Linked DNA regions of Homo sapiens: region 2 is linked to region 1. Evidence: promoter capture Hi-C in human tissues and cell types (Jung and others, 2019). All regions are on one chromosome and are shown on one strand. The core of a region is centred on a gene start or on the middle of the fragment in contact, and the rest is flanking DNA. Distances in the headings are between cores, read along the strand shown.

Region 1 (3,964 bases), core at 614-3,113:
GGAGGACAAGCACACACATTCCCTGCTGAGTTTGGAAGTTTGACTGAGACTGCCAGGATCACGTAAGCACCCCTGGGAAGGATGGAAATGGCTGTGCCGGACATGGTGGTTCCCGCTGAAGTCTAAGGCAAGCTGCGTCTCCCACACGGGCATAGCCACTATTGCTGGCTTGCAACCAGTCCGAGAGCTCTGCCGGGTCCTGGGCACCAGGGGCCACTCTGCTGTGTCCCTTTGCTCCAGTCCCAATGTCACTCGCATGGTGCAGGGTCATGGCTGACCAAGCACTGGCACTGAATGCGACCTTATCTCCCCGGGCTCACCTCCTTTCTTTTTAAGACCGCTTGTTTTTCACCCACTCAAAGATATATATTGAGCACTAAGTCCTTGAGATACATATCGAGTCAGGCAGACAAAGATCTCTGGGGGAGCTTGCATTCTAGGGCAGGGGCTAAACCTAAATAAAGCTCACATACATCCTGGCCAGACGCAGGGACTCACACCTGTAATCCCAATGCATTGGGAGGCCGAGGCAGGAGGATCACTTGAGCCCGGAAGTTTAAGGCTGCAGTGAGCTATGATGGTACCATTGCACTCCAGCCTGGGAAACAGAGCAGGAAGACCCTGTCTCAAAAAAGAAAAAGAAAAAAAAATTGTACATCCGAAGGGAGTCAAAAGTGCTTCAGGGGTTGGCGCGGGGCTGGGAAGTAGAGCAGAGTAAACGGAGGAGAGGGTGCGAGGAAAGATAGCTTGGAATCCTGATCTTTTTAAACAGCTAGAGACAACATTCTAAACACAAAATGAGAAAGAACAGTGTTCAAAAGGTGTCATCAAAGCCGAATGGGGTGGCTTACGCCTGTAATCCCAGTGCTTTGGGAGGTTGAGGCGTAAGGACTTCTTGAGCCAGTGAGTTTGAGACCAGCCTGGGCAACATAGAGAGCCCCTGTCTCTACAAAAAGAAATAAAATTAACCAGGTGTGGTGGTGCACACCTGTAGTCCCAGCTACTTGGGAGGCTGAGGTGGGAGGATCCCTTGAGCCCGGGAGCTTGAGACTGCAGTGAGCCATGATCACGCCACTGCACTCCAGCCTGGGGAACAGAACGAGAACTTCTCTCAAAAAAAAAAAAAAAAAAAAAAAAAAGAAAAAAAAACTGCGTCATCAATACCACCATGTCTCCTTTCCGCTCTATATCAATTATAAAATGGACTTCAGCCCCCAGAGTGCAGGCGATCCAGGGTGCAGTGGTCCAGAGTGCTGGAGTTGGCCCCTACTGGCTGGGAACTGGCCACGGTGGGAGCATTCACACCATGAGAACGGAAGAGAATCGGCAAAGGCTAGAAATCAGGCACCACCCTCTGCCCTGCCCCGCCCCATGAGAGCCAATTTCCCAGCATATCACCGTCACTAAGGTTACGTCAGAGCATCACAAATACCACAAAAGAAGGAACACTTGAAACCCTCCGAGACGACTTTTCGGGCACAAAGCTCCTTACTCAACCCCCAGACTTTGTAGGACGCTGAGCAAAGCTGTCCTAAAAACCACCCCTTTGCGTCCACCCGACTTTTGGCCAGATCAGGATGGAGGCCACCCTGTCCCCAGGGCCAGCCACTTCCCCTCCAGAGCCTCTTTGTCTGTGCACAAGGCTACTGTGGGCTGGTGGCAACATGGGCCCTTTCTGCTCCTCACACCAGAATCTTATCTTTGTGGCTCCTGCCTCCCAGCACAAGCCACATTCACCAAGCAGATGTCACGTTACTCAGGAAATATTTTTTAAACACGCATCTGCTGTGCATCAGACACAAAGCAGCCCTCCCTGCACCGGCCCCGCTCTTACCGCTGCACGTTCAGGATGGAGAAATCATCTCTTCCCTTTCCTCCACTTCACTTTTATGTGGCATATGAACCACTCCCTCCCCTGCTCCGTCATCAACAAACAGGGAGAGAAATGAAACTACTTGATCTGGCCACAGAAATGAAACTGAGTTATCAGCGTGCTCTCCAGATGACTCACAGAGTGGTCCCCAAACTCCAGCTGCATCCGAATCCTGGGAGAGCTGTGGAGACGGGGCGGCTGTCCCCCCACCCCCGCCAGAGAGTCTGATCTGTCAGGTCTGGGCTGGGCCTGAGAATCAGCATTGCTAACAGATTCCAGGGGAGGCTGGCATGGGGGCAGCTCAGAGTGGCTCAGTCACTGGAAGGTTCTGCCCTGACAGTGCCATCCAGTACCACCTGTGTGGCTCTGAAATGTGACTACTGCGACCAAGGAACTGGACTTCGAACTCCATGTAATTTGAATGAATAGCCACGTGTGGTTCGTGTATCGGGCCTCACAGATGCACTCCTGTTACAGCCGAGGACATGCTCTCAGGTACATGATCTGGACGCTCTGAGCTGTCCTGCTTAGCTTCATGCCTGAGCCGCACCTGACAAATGTCACCTCTCCCCTCATTAGGTGCGGAAAACCCAAAGAAGGAGGGTCAACAGCTTTCTCCAAGCACCCGTGCCTGAGGTCCCCGCCGCAAAACCAAGACGGTTTTCTTCCCATTGGAGATAAGGAGGCCCCAGGACAAACCCCAGGCTCCGGAACTCAGCCCTGAGCCAGCTGCATGTCATCTTTCTGGTCCTCAGTTACTTTTCACCTGCAAAAGTGAAGGTGCACAACCGCATGCTCCCTAAGGCTTCCTGCTCTGTGACCAAAGTCAAGGAGGGCCAGGCATTCCCATCACCAGAGCCAAGAGGTCTGGGAACCTCCAGGAGGAGCCCTCCAGACACCGGGGAGGGGACCAAGCCTCTCAAGGACTGGCAGTGATGGCTGGGAGGGAGGAAGCAGGCTCTCAGCTCTCCTATCCACCCGTGATCCTCTCCCAGACATCAACACTATACGTTTAAAAAAACTCCTGAGCTCCTCTTGGCTAAGTCATTGTAGTGACTTCCCTTGAGTGCAGGCTTAACTTTACGGAAGATATTTAGAAACTTAACATGTTTTTCAAAACCTTGGCATTAGAAATATTAACACCAGGAGATCATCGTCAGGATCACCTATCCCTGAACCACTTCTCTTCCCAAGAGCCCGGGCGGACAGAGGCTGAGGAGTGAGGGGAGGAATGTGAATCTCAGACTTGGCAGCGTGATGTGACATTCGGTTTCACTAGGAATGTCTTTCACAACAGGGCCTGGGCCGGCCTACTGCTTCAAGGAAGGCACAAAGAAAGGCCTCAGAGAAGCCGGACAGAGGGACACGAGCAGCTCGGGCCAGCTCAGGGGACCCTCCACCCTCTGTCAAGGCAGCATCCCCCTCCTGCACGCCCCTCACCAGCAGCCCTGGGAAGGACCAGAGGTGCCTGCGCATGCAAACTTCAAGGACAGGGTTCTTGCGTTCTGAGCACTAAAGCCCTGAGGGTGAATGAATGTCCCACGCAGCATCCAAGCACAGGGGCCGGGGCCAGAAAAGATGCTGCTGCTCAGGCCTCGGTCACAGCCGCTGGGCGGAGCTCTTCCCTCAGCTCCACATCAGGGAGCGTTACAGTGTGCAGCTTGGTAAAGAGGCGAAGTCCAGAAGCCCCAGTGCCCGCCTCCTGCCCTGGCACGCTGACTCTATGGAAAGCGCCAGCGCCTCTGTGTGCTGATGAAGTTCCTGGCCACCTGGAAGCACCTGCAGCACCTGGAGCCATCCAGAGCCAGCATGCATCCACTCTCCCATGGCCTCTCCAATCACAGAAGGAAAGATCAAGCAAATGCTTTCCTGAATTAACAGGACAAAGGCAATGGTGAAGTGCTGTAGACAAGCAGGGTTCTTACCTGGGGTGTGTCCCTCCCAGCAGAGCACAGGAGCAGCGGGTGCACCTTGGAGTGGAACTCCACCCTGTCATTGTCCGTGTGACCTGGCTCTTTGTTTCTTTTTTGTTTGCTTGAGATGGAGTCTCGCTCTGTTGCCCAGGCTGGAGTACAGTGGTGAGATTTCTGC
Region 2 (4,029 bases), core at 1,038-3,537, 40 kb after region 1:
AAGCACAAGGACCTCGTTTTCCTTGTTTCTTCCCTGTTCCTGTGACTTTACTGGCCACTGGATGAATCCCTTTGGTCCTGGCCATACTCTCGCCCTTGTGTAACCACAGCCTGCCCAGCTGTGGCTGATCATGGCCTTGCAGGAATGAGGGCCTGGGGTATCAGAGCTTCTACTGTTTCAAGAGATGCTCTAACATGGAGTTTTATGGGAGATCTCTTGATTTTGAAATACTTGTCCATATTTTATGTGTTTTGCTTTTAGACAAATCTTGTCTCTGACAGGTCTGTCTCTGGGCCCCCAGTTTGCAACTCATGTGCTGTGGACTGAATGTGTCCCCCTGAAATTCATATGTTGGAACCTAATCCCCAGAGTGCTGGTGTTAGGAGGTGGGGCCTTTGGCAGATGAAGCCTTCAGGAATGGGAGTAGTGCCCTTATAAAAGGAGCTTCAGAGACCTCGTTTGCCAGAAGGAGCCATCCATGAAGCAGAATGCAGGTCTCCACCAGACATGAAATCTGCGGGTACCTTGATCTTGAACTTCCCAGCCTCCAACACTGTCAGAAATAAATGCGTTGTTTATAAGGCCCCCAGTCTATGGTGTTCTCTTACAGTAATCTGGGTAGACTAAGTCATGATGCTCCCAAACTGGCACACAGCCCTCAGAACCCAGCATGGCCCACTCCCTTGCTTCACTGAGATGCTTCTCAATTGTCACCTCCTTCTCAGAGGCTTTCCCCACCCATCCTCTCTCGAATCTCATTTGTTCATGCGTTAAGCTGTCACCTCCCCTCACTAGGGTATCAGTGCCAAAGGGGCAGGGACCTCGTGGGCTTGTCCTCCGTCTCTCCTTAGCTCCTGGACATGCCCAGCACACAGCAGGCTCTCAGAAAACCCACCTTGATTGTGGGGAAGGACAGAAAGCAGCCGCCCTACAGAGAGCTGGGCCTTTCCTAAGCTGATGGTTGAGGCCGTGTGTTCACCGACATACAATGTCTGCCCTTTCTTTCACATCTACTCAATTACTAGCTTTTGCTTCCCAAGACTTTACAGAAGATTTTCCAACAGCTCTTCAGTCCGACAGAAACCTTAAAATGATTCGGGATCTCAGAACCTGGACCCTCCTGTGCTTCCCAGGGGAGGAAGCCAAGATCTGGGCGGAAAGAGCACAGTTCAAGGTCTGGCTGCAGGTTTGTGCTGGTAACCAGAAGCCACACTGTTCTAGTCTCACATGGGGTCAGCAGCGGCACGTGCCTTGGAATGGCGTGGGACCTAAATGAGTAACTGCAAAATGCTTCTCTCCTCCTCCTTCCTGATATAAAGCCGTCAGGGCCCCCCAGCCTCCAGCTGGGACAGAAACCACCACTCCTCCCTCTGCACACAAGCCATGAAGGCAGCCGTCTGCCCCAAGCACGGCACTCACCTTTGAGGACAGGCCTCTCCCCGATGCTGCGGATGCTATAGGCAGCACTGGACAGGGGTGCATCTGGAATGAGCTCTGCGAGCAGGTACCCCGAATACCAGGCACACAAGGAGGCGAAGACCACGAACACCACCTTGAGCAGGCCTGCAGAGAGGACACCAAGCAGCTGCTGTGAACGACTTGGTGGCGGCCCTGGCCCTTGGCCCTCCCCATCCCCCCTGTGGCTTTTCATCCCGGCCCAGTGTCAGGGGACTGCGCTATAGGCACTGTGCTCCTGGGAGGAGGCTCCCAGGGTGGGAGGCGGTGTCAGGACCTTTGAAGTAGACAGTATCAGAGAATACAAACAAGACAGGAATGCTTTCCAGGGCAAGTTGTATTTGCTGTTGGTTTAGGTCTTAACTTAACCAACAAACGTCCTTGAACGTTTATGTCAAAGCAGCTAATCAAGCACCTTGTGAGCCAGCATGCCCAACGTGAACCTGAAAAAACAAAAGCGCCTCATTCCCTTTGTGAGACACAACTGGATTTGAGCACGCTCCTGCAATTACATTGAAACCTTCAGGGGTAAAGCTCTGTCTGTTTTGTTGATTTCCATATCACCAGCACTGGGAATAGTAGCCGATGCCCAGCAAGCATGCAACGTATTCCTGCTGGATCAAGGCCTGGCCCCGTAATACTGGGAAAAAGTCCCCAAACCTGTTCTATCATCCCGGATGTGCCTGCTGGGCCAGTCAAGGTTCCCAGTGACAGAAAGTCCGTGGAGATATCTTTCTGGTTGATTGGCAACAATATCTTACTTCTCTTGTTTGACATGAGTGGCACGATTTCCAAGGAAAAGGCATTGATCTCCTCCTGGGTCACCAGAGGCCTGGGGGGTGGCTCTCTGTCTTTTCATTGGCAACCCATGGCCAGGGCTTTTAGAGTTTGCTCCCTAAATATAGCATAGATCAGAACTTATTCAGCAGTTTGCTTACCCAGATTGCTACGATGCAGGGATAACCACAGGCCCTGAGTAGGATGGGTACTGGGGTATGTGCCCAGTGCATTTAAATATGTGCTAATAGGGACAGTCCTAAGAAGTAAGAGAAGGAGGGAAGGAGGGAGAGAGACAGGGAGGAAAGAAGGAAGGAAGTGAAGGGGAAATGAGGAAAGGAGGAAAAAGGAAAGGAAGAGAAGGGAATGTCAAGTCTGAAGGGCCTGACAATGGGCCCCACCCGGGGTGCAGTTCTGGACCTCAGCTTGACTTCCAGCACCTAGAGATCATCCTTCCTTTCTCAGGAGCGCAGCTGTCCCCGACCCATGCACCGGCTATGCTGCGCCAAGGCAGCGTGTGCTATTGCTTGGAGGCCCAGCGCTTCAGCAGAGGGAGCCATGGGGATAGAACGCGATGTTTCTGGTTAGCCTTGGGGTTTGGTTTTGTTTTGCTTTTTTGAGTGCATATTTCAACACCATTTTTAAATTTCGAATTTCCAAACTGCTAAGATTGTTAGACTAGTAAGCACAGGTGGTTTCCTCTGGGGAGAGGCCCAAGGCAGTGTGATCAGTGCAGTTTTCAGGACTGGAAGGTCATCTCAAAGCAGATAAACCAGACACAGAAAACAAAATGAGACAGGTGCAGGCTTGCAGGCCCCTCTCCCGCAGCTGCGCCAACGGTTGTGCTCAGCCACCTGCGGGCGCTGCACTCCCGGGCTCACTCCTCTGCAGGAGTGATCTCTGCCTAGAGGGTGCTCTCCCCTACACAGCCCAGCCACAGCGCCCACACAGACACCACAGATGCTTCCCTCCAGGGCCACCCAGCATGCCTGTGACACCGCGTGGGTCGCTGATTTTCCAGAAAATTCTGTTGGATGAACAGAGTGCAGAGTGGGCTAAGACAGCAGCAGAACACGTTCAAAGGAAAAGGCCGTGCCCTGTATTCTGTGCATGTGGGTCGTAGCTGGACTGTTTCATCCAAGTGTTGTATTTGGAGAAGGAAACTGGCTAACCAGACAATGTTCAGGGGCTCTTCTAGACAACACGCCACACCTGAGATCCTGAGCAACAAGCTGCTGTTTAGCTTGGAGAAGGCTGAAAAGGAACATTATTTACCTTTTGAATGTGTAACAAGCAGCTACATGAAGGAATAGGTAACGGTGGCCCCAGCTGAACAAAAACAAACATGTGGACACGACAGAGAAGAAAACGGAGAATAAATAAGCCAAGTGTCCTCACAAGAAGAAGGGTAGCCCATGGCGGGTCCTGATGCGGCAGGGAGCTCTCTTCCGGGACACTTTTCAGGACTCCCAGGAAGACTAGAGAGTATCTGTGCTTTGGGTGAGGGATGCATCCAATGACCTCTAGGCTGGGGACAATCTGGAGTGCAGCATGCAGCTGGCTGGGAGAAGCCATGATCTAGAGTCTGAACCACCTCCTGGGTGGGAGGCAGATCCAGCCGCCAGCACTGGGATCGGGACATCATCAGAAGATGGGTGATGAGCTGAACCAGCAGCCTGTGCTCAGGTCTAGCACAAAGTCATGGAAGTATCCCAGCCGCTAGAGGGAGGGCAGGACATAGTAGCCAGGAGGTGACAGACAAAATCCAGGCAGGCAGCATCATTTCCTCAGGCTGCT

Evidence for each region. The method cuts DNA at HindIII sites, captures the fragments that hold promoters and counts their contacts. A contact is called where the count stands out against the background at its distance.
Region 2: a contact is called between a fragment that was not itself captured here and the fragment with the promoter of MX2 in region 1, in 1 of the 25 tissues and cell types used here (spleen).

Annotation. Positions count from the first base shown.
Region 1 is chr21:41,359,926-41,363,889 of GRCh38, reverse strand. It overlaps MX2 (MX dynamin like GTPase 2), which reads right to left and starts at 1,863. Exons shown (of 14, transcript NM_002463.2): 1 at 1,835-1,863. RefSeq lists enhancers at 1,319-2,158, 2,179-2,438, 3,721-3,964. The HindIII fragment of the contact is 34,961 bases long and covers 1-3,964 here.
Region 2 is chr21:41,320,457-41,324,485 of GRCh38, reverse strand. FAM3B (FAM3 metabolism regulating signaling molecule B) reads right to left here. Exons shown (of 8, transcript NM_058186.4): 2 at 1,420-1,563. Among named protein-coding and RNA genes, the nearest start is that of FAM3B, 5.7 kb to the right of the region's middle. The HindIII fragment of the contact is 6,637 bases long and covers 1-4,029 here.